2 separate regions of the Homo sapiens genome follow, and region 2 is linked to region 1. Evidence: promoter capture Hi-C in human tissues and cell types (Jung and others, 2019). All regions are on one chromosome and are shown on one strand. Each heading gives the region's core, a stretch centred on a gene start or on the middle of the fragment in contact. The rest is flanking DNA. Distances are from core to core; before and after follow the strand shown.

Evidence for each region. Contacts are between HindIII fragments. The study calls those that stand out against the background at their distance.
Region 2: a fragment that was not itself captured here is called in contact with the fragment with the promoter of FKBP10 in region 1 in 1 of the 25 tissues and cell types used here (small bowel).

What each region holds. Positions count from the first base shown.
Region 1 is chr17:41,808,546-41,816,390 of GRCh38, forward strand. It overlaps FKBP10 (FKBP prolyl isomerase 10), which reads left to right and starts at 4,459. Exons shown (of 10, transcript NM_021939.4): 1 at 4,459-4,734. The coding sequence starts at 4,490. P3H4 (prolyl 3-hydroxylase family member 4 (inactive)) reads right to left here and starts at 3,404. Exons shown (of 8, transcript NM_006455.3): 1 at 2,909-3,404; 2 at 2,587-2,739; 3 at 2,318-2,489; 4 at 1,161-1,289. The coding sequence starts at 3,370. RefSeq lists a silencer at 3,034-3,523 and enhancers at 3,664-3,773, 6,260-6,761, 6,762-7,261. The HindIII fragment of the contact is 16,914 bases long and covers 923-7,845 here.
Region 2 is chr17:40,807,886-40,815,730 of GRCh38, forward strand. It overlaps LOC105371776 (a long non-coding RNA gene), which reads left to right. Exons shown (of 4, transcript XR_934753.2): 2 at 1,264-1,431; 3 at 2,678-2,762; 4 at 6,063-6,243. Among named protein-coding and RNA genes, the nearest start is that of KRT10-AS1, 7.3 kb to the right of the region's middle. The HindIII fragment of the contact is 6,368 bases long and covers 1,615-7,845 here.

The DNA of each region.
Region 1 (7,845 bases), core at 3,209-5,708:
CCTGGCTAACTTTTTGTATTTTTTGTAGACACGGGGTCTTGTCATGTTGCCCAGGTTGGTCTCGAACTCCTGGGCTCAAGCCATCTGCCTGCCTGGGCCTCCCAAAGTGCTGGGATTACAAGTGTGAACCACTGTGCCCAGCCATGCCTACCTATTACTGTCATCCCCATTTTACAGTCAAGAAATCTGAGTCACAGAGAGGTTAGATAAATTGCTCAAGCTCACACAGCTGGAGAATGATGGCTCTAGTGAATTAGAGGCCCTTAGCCTCTCTGCTATGTGTACCCAGGAAGGGTCTCCTGGCCCCTGGGTTCTCAGCCCCTCTGCTCTGACTCCTGGCTCTGTCTGAATCTTGGCATCTCCGAGCTGCAGGAACACTGGAGGCTGTCCATTCCAGCCCCAGTGGATGCCAGGATCTCTCCAGTGAGGAGAGCCACAAGTCCTGGTGCCACTTTTTATTAGTCATAAGACCAACAGCCCCTTGCCCTATAAGCCTCAGTTTCCCCATCTGAAAAATCGGTCCAGTAATGCCAGCTGCATGGTGTTGGTGAAAGGACCACATAAGATAAAGTGACTTATAAACTCTCAAGTGTTGGCCGGTCATGGTGGCTCATGCCTATAATCCCAGCACTTTGGGAGGCTGAGGCAGTGGATCACCTGAGGTCAGGAGTTCAAGACCAGCCTGGCCAACATGGTGAAACCCCGTCTCTACTAAAAATACAAAAACTAGCTGGGTGTGGTGGCAGGCACCTATAATCCCAGCTACTCAGGAGGCTAAGAGAATCACTTGAATCCGGGAGGCAGCGGTTGCAGTGAGCCGAGATCGTGCCCCTGCACTCTAGCCTGGGCAAGAGTGAAACTCCGTTTCAAAAATAAAAATAAACTGTCAAGTGCTCTGCAGTTGTTGGTTGTCTAGTCATTTGCCCAAAAGACCCTCTTCTTCTCCCTGAGGCTGCTGTCTGTTCTCACTCAGAAGCCTCTCACCTGCCCCAGACTCCCAGGGTGCCTTCCCCATATTCCCACCACCCCTAGACTTTCCTCCTATCACCCAGGGTCCTCAATACTGAAGGAAAGCTCCCCACAACTCTGGGAGGCTCCCATACAGTCCTCTCCCTTATCACCTCGTCCCCTGCCCAAGCCAGCCCACCCAGGGGGCTCACACTTATAGTAGGCAAACTGCAGGTAGTGGTACATGGTGGCCACGAACTTGTCCACGAAGTAGCCACCCACATTGGGGGTCAAATTGGCCTCACAGTCCACCTTGCACTGCAGGGACTCTGCAAAGAGATCTGAGGGTGGGAGGCAGCAGTGAGAGGCTGGCATTGCAATGAACATCTCCGTCCCCCCAGTGGAGAAGACTCTAAATCCAATCTCTGCCTACTAAGCCAAGCTGCTTGTCCAGAAAATGTGTTGCTGTTGCAATCACAGGAGAGAATGTCTGTAAAGTGCTTGGCATACTATATGACAAGTGATGGTGAGGAAGATGACTGTGGGCTGGGCTGACTCACCACCCCTGCCACTCAACCACCACCCCAAGCCAGAGGGAGCCAGGGCATTCTGGGAGAGCAGCAGGTGAGGTCCAGAAATGGGGCAGAAGTCCAAACAGAGAAGCTAAAGGACAGTCTTTTTTTTTTTTTTTTTTTTTTGAGACAGAGTCTCGCCCTGTCGACCAGGCTGGAGTGCAGTGGCGCGATCTGGGCTCAATGCAACCTCCGCCTCCCAGGTTCAAGCGATTCTCCTGCCTCAGCCTCCCGAGTAGCTGGGATTACAGGTGCCCGCCACCACGACCAGCTAATTTTTGTACTTTCAGTAGAGACGGGGTTTCACCATGTTGGTCAGGCTGGTCTTGAACTCCTGACCTCGTGATCTGCCTGCCTCGGCCTCCCAGAGTGCTGAGATTACAGGTGTGAGCCACCACACCTGGCCAAGTACAGTCCTTTCTGCCCCTGCTCGAGGGACCCCAGGGTTAGAGATCCCAAGACTAGGTGTAATTTCTGGTTATCAACTGCTTTCTGCACACATCTGCTGGGTTACTTCTCACCGCTGCACCTTTGCATCTGCACTGCCCTCTGCCTGGAAGGCCTATGAACCCAAGCTTCCCAAACCCTTTAGGGATGTCACTGCCTCTACTCACTGATCCAGCCCCTTGGACACTCCCAGCTGGGGCCCCTGCACCCAGCGTCTTTCTCAACAGACAAGGCCTTCCTCCCGGCTGGCTCCTCCGCATTCGCAGTGCTCCACGTGCATGAAGGGGACATCTGCCTTACCGGGCCCTGTGGGTGAGAGGACCGCCCACCGTGGTCTGGGTGGCAGATACCTGCTATGGCCGGGTAGAAGTCCTTGAAGTCCACCTGCTCATGGGCCCCTTCACAGCCGGCCAGGCACCGGGCAAAGACTGCCAGGTACTCTGACAAGGCCCGCTCCATGTCCTCCGTGCTGCTGCGGAAATCCCCGCTGTTGTAGAGCTTCACAGCCCGGAGGAACACGGCCTGGAAGGGGCGTGGCAGGGGGAGTCAGGGCGCCCCCAACATCTCCCCTCCTCTACTAGCCCTCCTCTACAAGCCTCCTCCTGACCCTCCACCCCACCTCGTAGGGCTGGGCCTCTAGGTCCGTGAGGGACTCGTCGGCGACGTCCAGCATCCCCTGATAGTAGTTGAGATACTTGGCGGTCAGCTCGTGCTTCGGGTTCCTCTGGAGGAAGGTGTAGGCCGCCGCCACCGCCTTCTCCAGCCGGTTAGCCTGGTCGGGGGGTAGGGGGTGGGGGAGCGGGTCAGCAAGACCGGAGCTCGCGGCCCCGAGCGCACGGCGGGCTTCGTGCCTTGGGTGAAGATAACGCTCCTTCGACCGATCTGTGGGGAGCCACGACGCCCAGCCCGAGACAGGTCCCCGGGTGGGGGCGGGCTCCCACCTTGAACAGCGCGTAGTGCAGGTACTGGTAGGGCAGGCGGCTCTGGAAGTCACGCAGCAGCTGCCGCGGCGGGTAGGGCACCTGGAAGGCGGGCAGCGTCCGCTTGCAGCGCCGCAGGCAGGCGGCTCGCTCCAGGACGCGGCCGAAGAGCCGCAGCTCGCAGGCCCACTCGTCTGCGCGGCCGCCGTCGGGATCGGGCTTGGCCGCGGGCGCGGGGCCGCTGCAGTTGGCGTGGCAGAAGGCCTCGCTGTCGCGCAGGAGCCGGTGCAGCCGCAGCGCCGCCTCCAGGTAGCGCGCGCTCTCGCGCCAGCTCTCTCCCTCGTACTGCTCCAGAGCGTGCCCGTACGCCGCGGCCAGCGGCATCAGGTCCTCGGGCGGGAAGCCCCGGAAGCTGTACTTCTCGTACTGCGCCCCGGCGCTGCCCAGCAGCAACCACAGCAGCCCCCACGCCACCCGAGCCATGCCCGCCGCGCCGCCGGCTCTCCGGAGCTGAGCTGGCTGCCCCGCGGACGGAAGGGGACAGGGCCGGGCCCCGGGCGGGCGGCGCGCCCGCTGGGTCTTAGCGCCGGGCACGAGGCGGCAAGGTGGGGCGGGGCCTGGGTCACGACGTCTCCCCTCTTTTCCCAGAGGGTCCGATAGTGTCGTTAAGTCCTCTCCGTCGGCCCGGGCTCCTGCCTTGGGGGTGTCCCCTAGGTAGAGAATGCGTCGGGGAGCGCTTCCCGCCAGAGATGGGAAGCCCAGGAAGCCCCTCCCCATGCAAACAGTGCCCCCGCCTGAGATCAGGACACTGAGTGAGGGCCGCCTCCTCTGCGCTGCCCATACGAGAAGGAAGCCCTGGAGCCGGGCCTTCCGTCGCTGCGCCCTCCTGCACCCTCCGAGTGTCTCCCCCGCCCACGTCGGAGGCACACACCTGCTGTCACCTGCACACCTTGCGCTGCCACCACCCCCCACTCCATCTCCGTGCCCGTCACATCCCAAGTCACAAAGTCCTTCTTTCAGTCCAGCTTTTGCGGGACCAAGCTGCTCTTCCCTGGAGATGCCTTCCCTTGGAGTACAGCTGGGGTCACGGATGAGCACGGAGATGCCTCTCACACTCCGCGGCTTCACCACCCACCTGGAGGGGACTAGAATTCGAAGTGCCCGCGAAAGAAGCAAGGTTCATCTCCGCCCGGCTTTAGGACCCGGGGGCTCCGGAAAAAGTCATTGAACTTTTTTTTTTTTTTTTCCTTTGGTGTCCACTCAGAGTTCTCATCTTTCCCGAGCCTCTCTCCCTGGCCAGGCCCCAGGTCTCGCAGCCAGGGATGGAGATGGGGGGAGGGGGAACCTAGAGTTCTTTGTAGTGCCTCCCTCAGACTCTAACACACTCAGCCTGGCCCCCTCCTCCTATTGCAACCCCCTCCCCCGCTCCTCCCGGCCAGGCCAGCTCAGTCTTCCCAGCCCCCATTCCACGTGGACCAGCCAGGGCGGGGGTAGGGAAAGAGGACAGGAAGAGGGGGAGCCAGTTCTGGGAGGCGGGGGGAAGGAGGTTGGTGGCGACTCCCTCGCTCGCCCTCACTGCCGGCGGTCCCAACTCCAGGCACCATGTTCCCCGCGGGCCCCCCCAGCCACAGCCTCCTCCGGCTCCCCCTGCTGCAGTTGCTGCTACTGGTGGTGCAGGCCGTGGGGAGGGGGCTGGGCCGCGCCAGCCCGGCCGGGGGCCCCCTGGAAGATGTGGTCATCGAGAGGTACCACATCCCCAGGGCCTGTCCCCGGGAAGTGCAGATGGGGGATTTTGTGCGCTACCACTACAACGGCACTTTTGAAGATGGCAAGAAGTTTGATTCAAGGTAACCCCGGTTGGGCGCCCCCGGATTCACCACTCCGTCCCCTGAACCCGGGGTCCTGTTTCCTTGTTGCCTCTTTTAAGCTCTGCATCCCAATACTCTAACCCTAGACAGCACCCCTGGGGCCTCCCAGACACCCATCTCCCCAAAGATACCCTCCTGCCCCCACTTCCAAACCCTCACTTCTCAAAGGATCCCATTTCTTTCTCACAAGCTCTCCACATCCCGGAAAGGACTCGATAATCAAGGTGAACTGCCTTGTGTAGTTACCAGGGCTGTATGTAATGACCTGATGGAGAGGGGTGTTCTGATCTACAGTGTTGGGGGGAAGGGGGTGGTCCCTGCTGCTTAAGAACCCTGGGATGGTCTATCAGCCTGGACCCCGTACCTTTCCACCCACCCTGACTCCCCTTCTGGTTCCACTGTTTTCAGTGCCTTTGTGGTCAGAGAAGAGGGAATAGAACTTTTTTTTGGAGGGGGTGGGAGTTTTCAGCGGCTGGTGGGCAGGGAAAAAGGCTGGTGGGTATTATAAGAAGACAGCCGGCTGGACCTGGGGGTAGCGCGTGGCTCCCTGCGGAGGCCCTGTCTACGTGTCACACAGTCGGACATGCCACCCTGGGCTCCTTGGAGGAATTTCATTCCTCCCTCTCTGGTTCTCCTGGAACCCTCATCTCTCTCCATTTTAGGTACACCAGGCCAGAGGCACAGGCCGCCCATTTTTGCCAGCCTTGGGGTTTGTAAGGTGGCCTCCTGGTCTGACCCAGGCCTTTGGTCTGCCCCAGCAAGTCCACTTTTGTTAGCGGGGACAGGGCAGGGCTGTATGCCAGCCTCAGGGGTAAATCTAGGGTCCCAGTTACACACAGACCCCACAGCACACTGAAAGAAGTCAGTGTTTCTTAGACCCTCCTCTGAAACACACAACTCAGCCCACAGGAAATTAGTGGCCATGACTTTAGAGGCAGGCATATATTGGGGTAAGCCTACAAACTCCAAGAGTCCCAAGACCCTGGTTCAAATCCAGGCTATGACCATGGACAGAGAATTTTGTCTCTTTAGGCATCACTTTCCTTATCTGAAAAGTGGAGACAAAAACAGGACCTACTTGCTAAGGCTGATGTTAGGACTCCAAGGACATGGATGAATGAACGTAGGCTTCTCACAGGGCCTGGCAGTCCTCCAGCCAGTTCAGCACACATTAACATTGACCCTGAGGAAAACCATATGACCTGATGCTGTGGAACTTGTAGAAACTTAATGCAGAGCTTAAGCCTTCATAACAACACTGAGAAGGAAACAGTCCAGACTTAAAACCTGTCTGCTTGGTGGGCAAATTCAGATATAGGGTAGTAGCCAGAAGTGCAGCCCTGAGCCCTTGACTGCTAGGAGTGAGGCAGGGGTTGGGATTTAGGGGATGTCATCCCTGATGGGGACTCTGGGAGCCCAGCTCATGAGTGTTGAGCTTGGAAAACTTTTTGTTTTTTAGCTGGAGGCTCACTCTGTCGCCCAGGCTGGAGTGCAGTGGTGCCATCTCAGCTCACTGCAACCTCCTGGGTTCAAGCAATTCTCCTGCTTCAGCCTCCCAAGTAGCTGTGATTACAGGCGCATGCCACCACGCCCAGCTAATTTTTGTTTGTTTGTTTGTTTTTGTTTTTTGAGACACAGTCTCACACTGTTGCCTGGGCTGGAGTGCAATGGAGCAATCTCAACTCACTGCAACCTCCGCCTCTGCCTCCCAGGTTCACGTGATTCTCCTGCCTCAGCCTCCCGAGTAGCTGGGATTACAGGTGCACACCACCACACCCGGCTAATTTTTTTGTATTTTTAGTAGAGAGGGGTTTCACTATGTTGGCCAGACTGGTCTTGAAAAAGGCGGGTGGGTATTATAAGAAGACAGCCAGCTGGACCTGGGGGTAGGGCATGGCTCCCTGCGGAGGCCCTGTCTGTCTACGTGTCACACAGTCAGACATGCCACCCCAGCCTCGTGATCCGCCCACCTCGGCCTCCCAAAGTGCTGGGATTACAGGCGTAAGCCACGGCGCCCAGCCTTAATTTTTCATATTTTAGTAGAGATGGCGTTTCACCATGTTGCTCAGGCTGGTCACAAACTTCTGAGCTCAGGCAATCCACCCTCCTCAGCCTCCCAAAGTGCTAGAATTACAGGCGTGAGCCCCCGCGCCCACACAACTTAGAAAACTTTTTTTTTTTTTGAGACAGAGTCTTGCTCTGTCCCCCAGGCTGGAGTGCAGTAGCGCGATCTCTGCTCACTGCAAGCTCCGCCTCCTGGGTTCACACCATTCTCCTGCCTCAGCCTCCCGATTAGCTGGGACTACAGGCGCCTCCACAATTTTTTTTGTATTTTTAGTAGAGACGGGGTTTCACCATGTTAGCCAGGGTGGTCTCCATCTCCTGACCTCATGATCTGCCCGCCTCGGCCTCCCAAAGTGCTGGGATTACAGGCGTGAGCCACTGCGCTCGGCCAGAAAACTTTCTTAACCCATGGCCCCTTCAATTAAAAAAAAAAAAATCTCCCATCCTCACTTTACTTCTGAAAACTTAAAATAAATTAAAAGTGTATATAATTGGCTGGGCACAGTGGCTCACTCCTGTAATCCCAGCACTTTGGGAGGCCCAGGCAGGCAGATCACTTGAGGCCAAGAGTGACCAGCCTGGGCAACATGGCGAAAGCCCTCTCTACTAAAAATACAAAAATTAGCCAGATATGGTGGTGCATGCCTGTGATCCCAGCTGCTACTTCGGAGGCTGAGGCAGGAGAATCGCTTAAACCCGGGAGGTGGAGGTTGCAGTGAGCTGATTGCACCACTGCACTCCAGCCTGGGTGACAGAGCCGAGACTCCATCTCCAAAAATACATATGTATAAGTAAAAATAAATACATTAATTAAAAGTGTATAACTAAAAACAAACAAAAGCCATGGCACTTTTAGAATAGGCTTTTTTTTTTTTTTTTTTTTTTGAGAGGGAGTCTCACTCTGTCGCCAGGCTGGAGTCCAGTGGCACGATTTCGGCTCATTGCAACCTCCGCCTCCCGGGTTCACGCCATTCTCCTGCCTCAGCCTCCTGAGTAACTGGGACTACAGGCGCCCGCCACCACACC
Region 2 (7,845 bases), core at 3,549-6,048, 1.0 Mb before region 1:
TTTTTTTAGGAATGTAATTGCTGTATAAATCAAGGAAGATTGTACTTAAGCTTATTTTGCCCAGAATTTGATCAAGGGTTGTTTAAAAAATCCCATCACCAACAACATTGCTGCTCATTGTATTTAAGTCAGTGATGTGCCCACGTTTATCAGTCTCTCTTCATTTGTACCTTTTTGCATTCTCGCTGGTTTTGCATATAGATGCAATCATTTGACTACTTCATTACATCTTCTGGTACAATCATACTCGAACATTTCCATATTGAAATGCAAATAATTTTATTACAAGTTATCTTTCCTTCTGTTTTTCTTTTACATCTATCATTAACCTTTCTACACACTATAGATTATAATCATAGATAATATAAACTTCCCATGCATAGTTTCTTTATCTTCTTTTCTTTTTTTTTCTTTGAGACGGAGTCTTGCTCTTGTTGCCCAGACTGGAGTGCAATGGTGTGCTCTCAGCTCAGTGAAACCTCCGCCTCCCGGGTTCAAGCAATTCTCCTGCCTCAGCCTCCTGAGTAGCTGGGATTACAGGCATGTGCCACCACACCTGGCTAATTTTTATATTTTTGGTGGAGATGGGGTTTCACCATGTTGGCCAGGCTGGTCTCAAACTCCTGACCTCATGGTCTGCCCGCCTCAGCCTCCCAAAGTGCTGGGATTACAGGTGTGAGCCACCATGCCCGGCCAGTTTCTATATATGATATATAAAAATGTATATATGAAACACAGAAGTGATAAGTATATGTTTTGTACATGTGATATTTATAGTACCCACCCCTGCTCCTCCTCCGTATACTAGGATAAACTGTGTGTTGGAAGGATATATTACCTATGAATTTCATTTCTCAATAGTAAAGGGGGTGAATCAAAATATTTGCTATAAAAAAGGAATGTAAGTCAGAACTACTGGCAAAATATAGGAAGGAGCAGGGCTAAGCACTACAGAGCACTGGTCTCCAAGTAAAGTATGTACTTTTAGGAGATGCAGGCAACCCACTGGGTGGGAGGAAGAGGGTGTCAGAACTTCTATTTAAGTTTTTGTATTAGAAAGTAAGAATTAAACTAAACTCATATTTAATATAAGAATGACATTGGCATTCTGATTTTATCTTTATGTCAATCTCTCTTCTCAATCAGCTCAAAAGATATTCTGAGAAAAGAATGTTCACCCCACAATGTAGAGAAGTGGATAGTGACATCTTCATTTGCTTGCAATGCACTGTGACATTGCAGTTTATGTCCATTGTATTTCAGGATTGTATTGCTGCTTTTAATGGAGCGAATCCCCCCTCCCCACCAGAAACAGCAAAGAAACAGCAACTGGAAGATAACAGAATCATGAAAGCATGATTGAAGAACAAAAAAATGGGACAGCTGACACTTCCACTTCTGTTAAGAGTTCTTTGCCAGCCACATTATTGGGTAAAATATAATACAATAATCATCATAATGGTGGTATTATATTCCACAAGAAATCAGCTGATAAAATTTGGAGTTCTCAAAAAGATTATTTAAAATAAGGATTTGGGTCTACAGTCTTTATGCTAAATACATGTTGTGCATTGAGCTATCTGATAGTATATATACACATACATATATTTTATATAATTTTAAAATAAATATGGACATCTTGGGGGTGCATACTCAAATGTTTTTACTGTAATAAGAAATGTCTAGTAATCACTGCTCTAGAGGAAGGAGCTCTAGGCTTGAAATCAGAAATCCCACATATAAGACCTAGGTCTGCCAGCTGCTATCCATGAGACCTTGGGGAAATCATTACATATTTCTGAACCCTGCATATGTCCCCAGGTTGTTCTGAAGATGATTTCTACATAGAGGTGTAAGTATATTGAGAATTGCAAAGATCTGTGCACACACACAGTGTTACACTGTTCTTCTATACTACTTCTTGACATACTTTGGTATGTCCTGACCGCATAACACAGTATCCCGCACATGGAGATAATTATAATTCTAAGTAGTGTTTATGAACAATAGAGTCTTATCACTGTTTAAATGGCTTTCCATAATTAGAACAGAGTGGAAATTCCAGTGTGCTTATTTCATTTTTCCCCTCTTAACACAGTTTCCACAAATAAATACTGTAAAGCATGGTGTTCCTGCCAAGATGTGATATCTTAGTCTTTGTCCCCATTTTTGCAGAAGGTAATCAGCTCTACTGACAGGGCAGATGAAAAAACAGTGAAATAATAGAAAGTTTAATTTGAATGTGTATGTAGATTACCTGTAGACATTTTGGAAGGCATAGGTTGCTAGAGGTCATCTCAATTGTACAGGGAGGACTATTGCATTGTCAAGCTCCCATGGCAACCTGGGCTTACTTCTGTGTAGTGCTTTCTACCATGTCTGTGTAGTTGTACATCTATTTCTACTTCTGAGTTCTTTGAAGGCAAGGACTGGGTTTCATTCATTATTTTTAATCACTGTTGCCTGGCACAGTGCTTGACACTGCAGAAGGAATGATCAACCAATACATATTTTAATGCATACTGTGAACCAAGGTCTATGATAGGCGTTGGATTGATTTATATAAATTCCAGTTATTTTTTAAAGGCAGAAAATGATAGTTGGGCTTGGGGAGATGTCAGTGAAAGGGAATAGGTGATGGGCAGTAGTGAGACTGTTACGCATTCTTTTTCCAAAGAGAAAGTGGAAGATGGACTTTTGATTGGAGAAAAATCTTGGCAGGAAGATCACCATGGAGCGTAGAAGGGTGAGGATACACCTAGGTGAGAGGAGACATTGCCGTGAGTTTCTATATTTCTTTTGGCTTGGCATCAAGTAGCGATTACATACCAACTCCTTTTAACTCTTCCCACCATAAGTAACCCAGTTGTCCAAACATTACTCATTCACATTCCCAAACCAACTACCAAAACAACATTCCAGGAGAAGCAGGAGTTTTAAAGGTTGTGCGTTATGACACCTCCATCTTTTCTTTCTAATAACAGGCTGCACAAATATAAACGTGTGATTACAGGCAGGCTATGGTTCAACTTTAATTAATCCGTTGGTTCTATAGATTAAGAATATGATTCACAAAGTTTGTTCATTAAAAAATCCATTATAAGGAAATTATTTACCTGTGCTATTTTTTTTTTTTGCTATAAAGAAATTTTCATGCTCTTTAGTCCTCAGAGTACAAGCTTTTTTTGGAGCTGAAAATACAGCAGAAACTGACCACACTAGAAAAATAAAAAGCTAAATGTTCAATTGCTGTTTTTAATTTTCATTTTTTTTTAAAAGTCAGGTTTATTGAGGTTTAATGTGCATAAAGTAAAATTTACCTTTTTTTGGTGTATAGTTCAATTAATTTTGACAAACAAATTCAGTTGTACAATGGCCACCATAAACAAAACAGAGAATATGAGAATACTTCCATCATTCCAAAAAATCCTCTTGTACCTCTTTGTGGTAAACACACTCCCTTTACCCTCTGACAATCTCTGATCTGTTTTTAGCTCTCTAGTTTGACTTTTCCTTGAATTTCATATCAATGAGCTATAACATATAGCCTTCTGAGTCTAGCATCTTTCACTTAGCATAATGCTTTTGAATTTCAAGATGTAATGTGGTCTGTTTCTTTTGTAGCATTTCATATATGGGTGTACCATATTTTTTTCCATTCACTAGTTTATGGGCATTTGGGCTATTTTCAGATTTCATGATTATGAATAAAGCTGCTCTAAATTTTCCTCATAGGTCTTTATGTAGATATTTTTATTTCAGTTGGATAAATGTCTATGAGTGAGATTGCTAGATTGTATGTTAAGTCTATGTTTAACACGATGACAAACTGCCAAACTATAATTTTGCATTCCCACTAGCAATATATGAGGGTTCCAGTTGCTCAGAATCCCTACTTGCACTTGGTATTGTCCATCAAAAAATTTTTTTTGAGTCATTCTAATAGTTGTATAGTGGTATGTTTAGAATTTGTATTTCCCTAATGTCTAATGATGTCAAGCATCTTCTTTGTGTGCTTATTTGCCATTTGTATCTCTTCTTTGATAAAGTATCAGTTCAAATCTTTTGTCCATTTTTTAATTGGTTTGTGGTTTTTTTCTTGTTATTGAGTTGTAGTTTTTTATATTTATATTCTATATGCCAGTCCTTTATAAGATTTGTATTTTTGTGACTATTTTCTCCCAGTCTTTGGCTTTTTAAAATTATTTTGACGGTGACTTTCAATAGATGACACAAACAAATGGAAAAACATCATATGCTCATGGATTGGGTGAATAATGATATTGGGTCAATATTGTTAAAATGACCATACTGCCCAAAACGAACTACAGGTTCAATGCTATTCCTATCAAATCACCAATGTAATTTTTCACAGAACTAGAAGAAACTATTCTAACATTCATATGGGACCGATGAAGATCATGAATAGCCAAAGTAATCCTAAGTGAAAAGAACACAATGAAATACAAATGGGCTATATAATGATCAAAATACATGAGCAGATGTTTCACCAAAGAGGAGATACGGATGGCAAATAGCCACATGAAAAGCTGTTCAGGCCAGACACAGTGGCTCACGCCTGTAATCCCAACACTTTGGGAGGCTGAAGTGGGTGGATCACCTGAGGTCAGGAGTTTGAGACCAGCCTGGCTGACATGGTGAGACCTCATCTCTACTAAAAATACAAAAATTAGCTGGGCATGGTGGCGCATGCCTGTAATCCCAGCTACTCAGGAGGCTGAGGTAGGAAAATCACTTGAACTTGGGAGGCAGAGGTTGCGGTGAGCTGAGATTGCTCCACTGCACTCCAGCCTGGGCGCCAGAGAAAGTCTCTGTCTCAAAACAAGAAAAAAGAGAGAGAAAAAAAAGAAAATAAAAAGAAAAGCTATTCAGCATATTTTCCATTAGGGAAATGCAAATTAAACTTCAGTGAGCTATAAGTACATACCTATTAGAAAAATACTGATAATGCCAAATACTGATGAGGATGCAGAAAAATTTGCTCTCCCATTTATTGCTGGTGGCAATATAAAATGGTACAGCTTCTCTGGACAACAGTTTGGCGGTTTCTTACAAAACTGAACATGCACCTACCATATGACCTAGCAATTATATGCTTGGACATATAACCCAGAGAAATGAAAATGTATGTTCACACCAAAACGTGTACACAAATGTTCAGTCTCAAAAGGTTACATACTGTGTGATTACACTTATATAGCATTCTCTAAATGGTAAAACTATAGAGATGGAGATTAGTAGTTGCCAGGGGCCAGGAACTGGGAAGGGAGTGTTGAGGTACACATGTGAATACAAAAAGGTAGCATGAAGGAGTTCTTTTGTGGTTATGAAATGGTTCTGTATCTTGATTTGGGTGGTGGTACAAAAATTGTACCTATACATGGGGTACAATTGCACAGACACACAATTTTTTTTTGGTTTGTGGTTTTTTCTTGTTATTGAGTTATAGTTTTTTATATTTATATTCTATATGCCAGTCCTTTATAAGATTTGTATTTTGTGAATACACATGCAGGTTAGGAAAAACAAAAACTGAGTAAGCTCTGTAGTTAAACAGTGATGTACCAATGCCAATTTTTAAATTTTAGATATTATACCCTAGCCTATAGAAGATGTCTCTATTTGGGGAAGGTGAGTCAGGAGTACACTGGACTCTACTATTTTTGCAATTTCCAACGAGTCTATAATTATTTCAAAATTTAAAAAATGTGATTACACATTTTTTTCTGCTTTTTTTTTACTACTTATATGGATGTTTAAGACACTCATTTGGATTATTTCTAGTATGTTTGTTATGGGTTTAATAGTTTATCATTTACTGAATAAACCTTACTTTCTTAGGGTTTAGATTCTTCCTTTATCATACACTAATGTCCATTTATATATAATCATTTCCTACACTCTTAGTTCCAGTGATGAATTAAATTGTGCTTCAGTTTCTTCATCTGTAAAATGGAGATAATAATAGTATATATGTCATAGAGTTCATTCCTTCAAAAACGATATTTTTGGTACCTAACCTGTGTTAGTCACTGTTCTAGTGCCTCAGGATACATGAATGGATAAAGTAGACGAAGATCAAGCGTTGTCTTTCTGGAGTGTACCGTCTAGCAGGGGAAAAGGATGACTAATAATGAATACATTGTATAGTAAGTTGGAAACAGTGCTGTGAAAAAAAGAAAAAGTGGAAAACCTAGGCAATACCATTCAGGACACAGGCATGGGCAAAGACTTCATGACTGAAAAACCAAAAGCAATGGCAACAAAAGCCAAAATTGACAAATGGGATCTAATTAAACTAAAGAGCTTCTGCACAGCAAAAGAAACTATCATCATGGTGAACAGGCAACCTACAGAAAGGGAGAAAATTTTTGCAATCTACCCATCTGACAAAGGGCTAATATCCAGAATCTACAAAGAACTTAAACAAATTTACAAGAAAAAAACAACCCCATCAAAAAGTGGACAAAGGAAATGAACAGACTTCTCAAAAGAAGACGTTTATGCAGCCAACAGACATATGAAAAAATGCTCAACATCACTGGTCATCAGAGAAATGCAAATCAAAACCACAATGAGATACCATCTCACACCAGTTAGAATGGCGGTCATTAAAAAGTCAGGAAACAACAAATGCTGGAGAGGATGTGGAGAAATAGGAACGCTTTTACACTGTTGGTGGGAGTGTAAATTAGTTCAACCATTGTGGAAGACAGTGTGGCAATTCCTCAAGGATCTAGAACTAGAAATACCATTTGACCCAGCGATCCCTTTACTGGGTATACATCCAAAGGATTATAAATGATGCTACTATAAAGACATATGCACACGTATGTTTATTGTGGCACTATTCACAATAGCAAAGTCTTGGAACCAACCTAAATGTCCAGCAATGATAGACTGGATTAAGAAACTGTGGCACATATACACCAGGGAATACTATGCAGCCATAAAAAAGGATGAGTTCATGTCCTTTTCAGGGATATGGATGAAGCTGGAAACCATCATTCTGAGCAAACTATCACGAGGACATAAAACCAAATACCACATGTTCTCACTCATAGGTGGGAGTTGAACAATGAGAACACATGGACACAGGGTGGGGAACATCACACACCTGTTGTGGGGTAGAGGGCTGGGGGAGGGATAGAATTAGGGGAAATACCTAATGTAAATGACGAGTTAATGGGCGCAGCCAACCAACATGGCACACGTATAACTACGTAACAAACCTGCACATTCTGCACATGTACCCTAGAACTTAAAGTATAATAATAATAAAAAAAGTGGAGCAGATAGGGGAGTTGGGAGATTGGCAGGTAAAATTTTAAGCGGAAAATCAGAGTGGGTCTCAAAGAAAAAGTGACAACTGTGCAAAGGCTTGAAGGAGGTAAGGAAGACCATCTTGTTAAAGAATATTAACCAAGGTAACATCAAAAGAGAAATGGAGAGACATCAAAGAATTTTGATCAAATATAATTAGACTTACAATTTGATCTAATATATTAGACTTACATTTTAAAAGGATAACTATGGTTCTGTGTTGAAAATAAACTGTAGGGTAGTAGCTAAGCTTAAATGAGTTCATATACATGTTATATGTACTGAGTCTACCTACCTATCTGTATCTATCTATCTATCTATCTATCTATCTATCTATCTAATCTATCTATCTATCCATCCACACATTTACCCACCTACCTACCTATCTATCCATCCATCATTTACTCAGAACAATGCCCGGTGTGATTTAAAGGCTATTATTATCATTATTTTCATTGTCAAGCTTAGTTTAACCACAACTACCTCATATAAGGTAGCTAT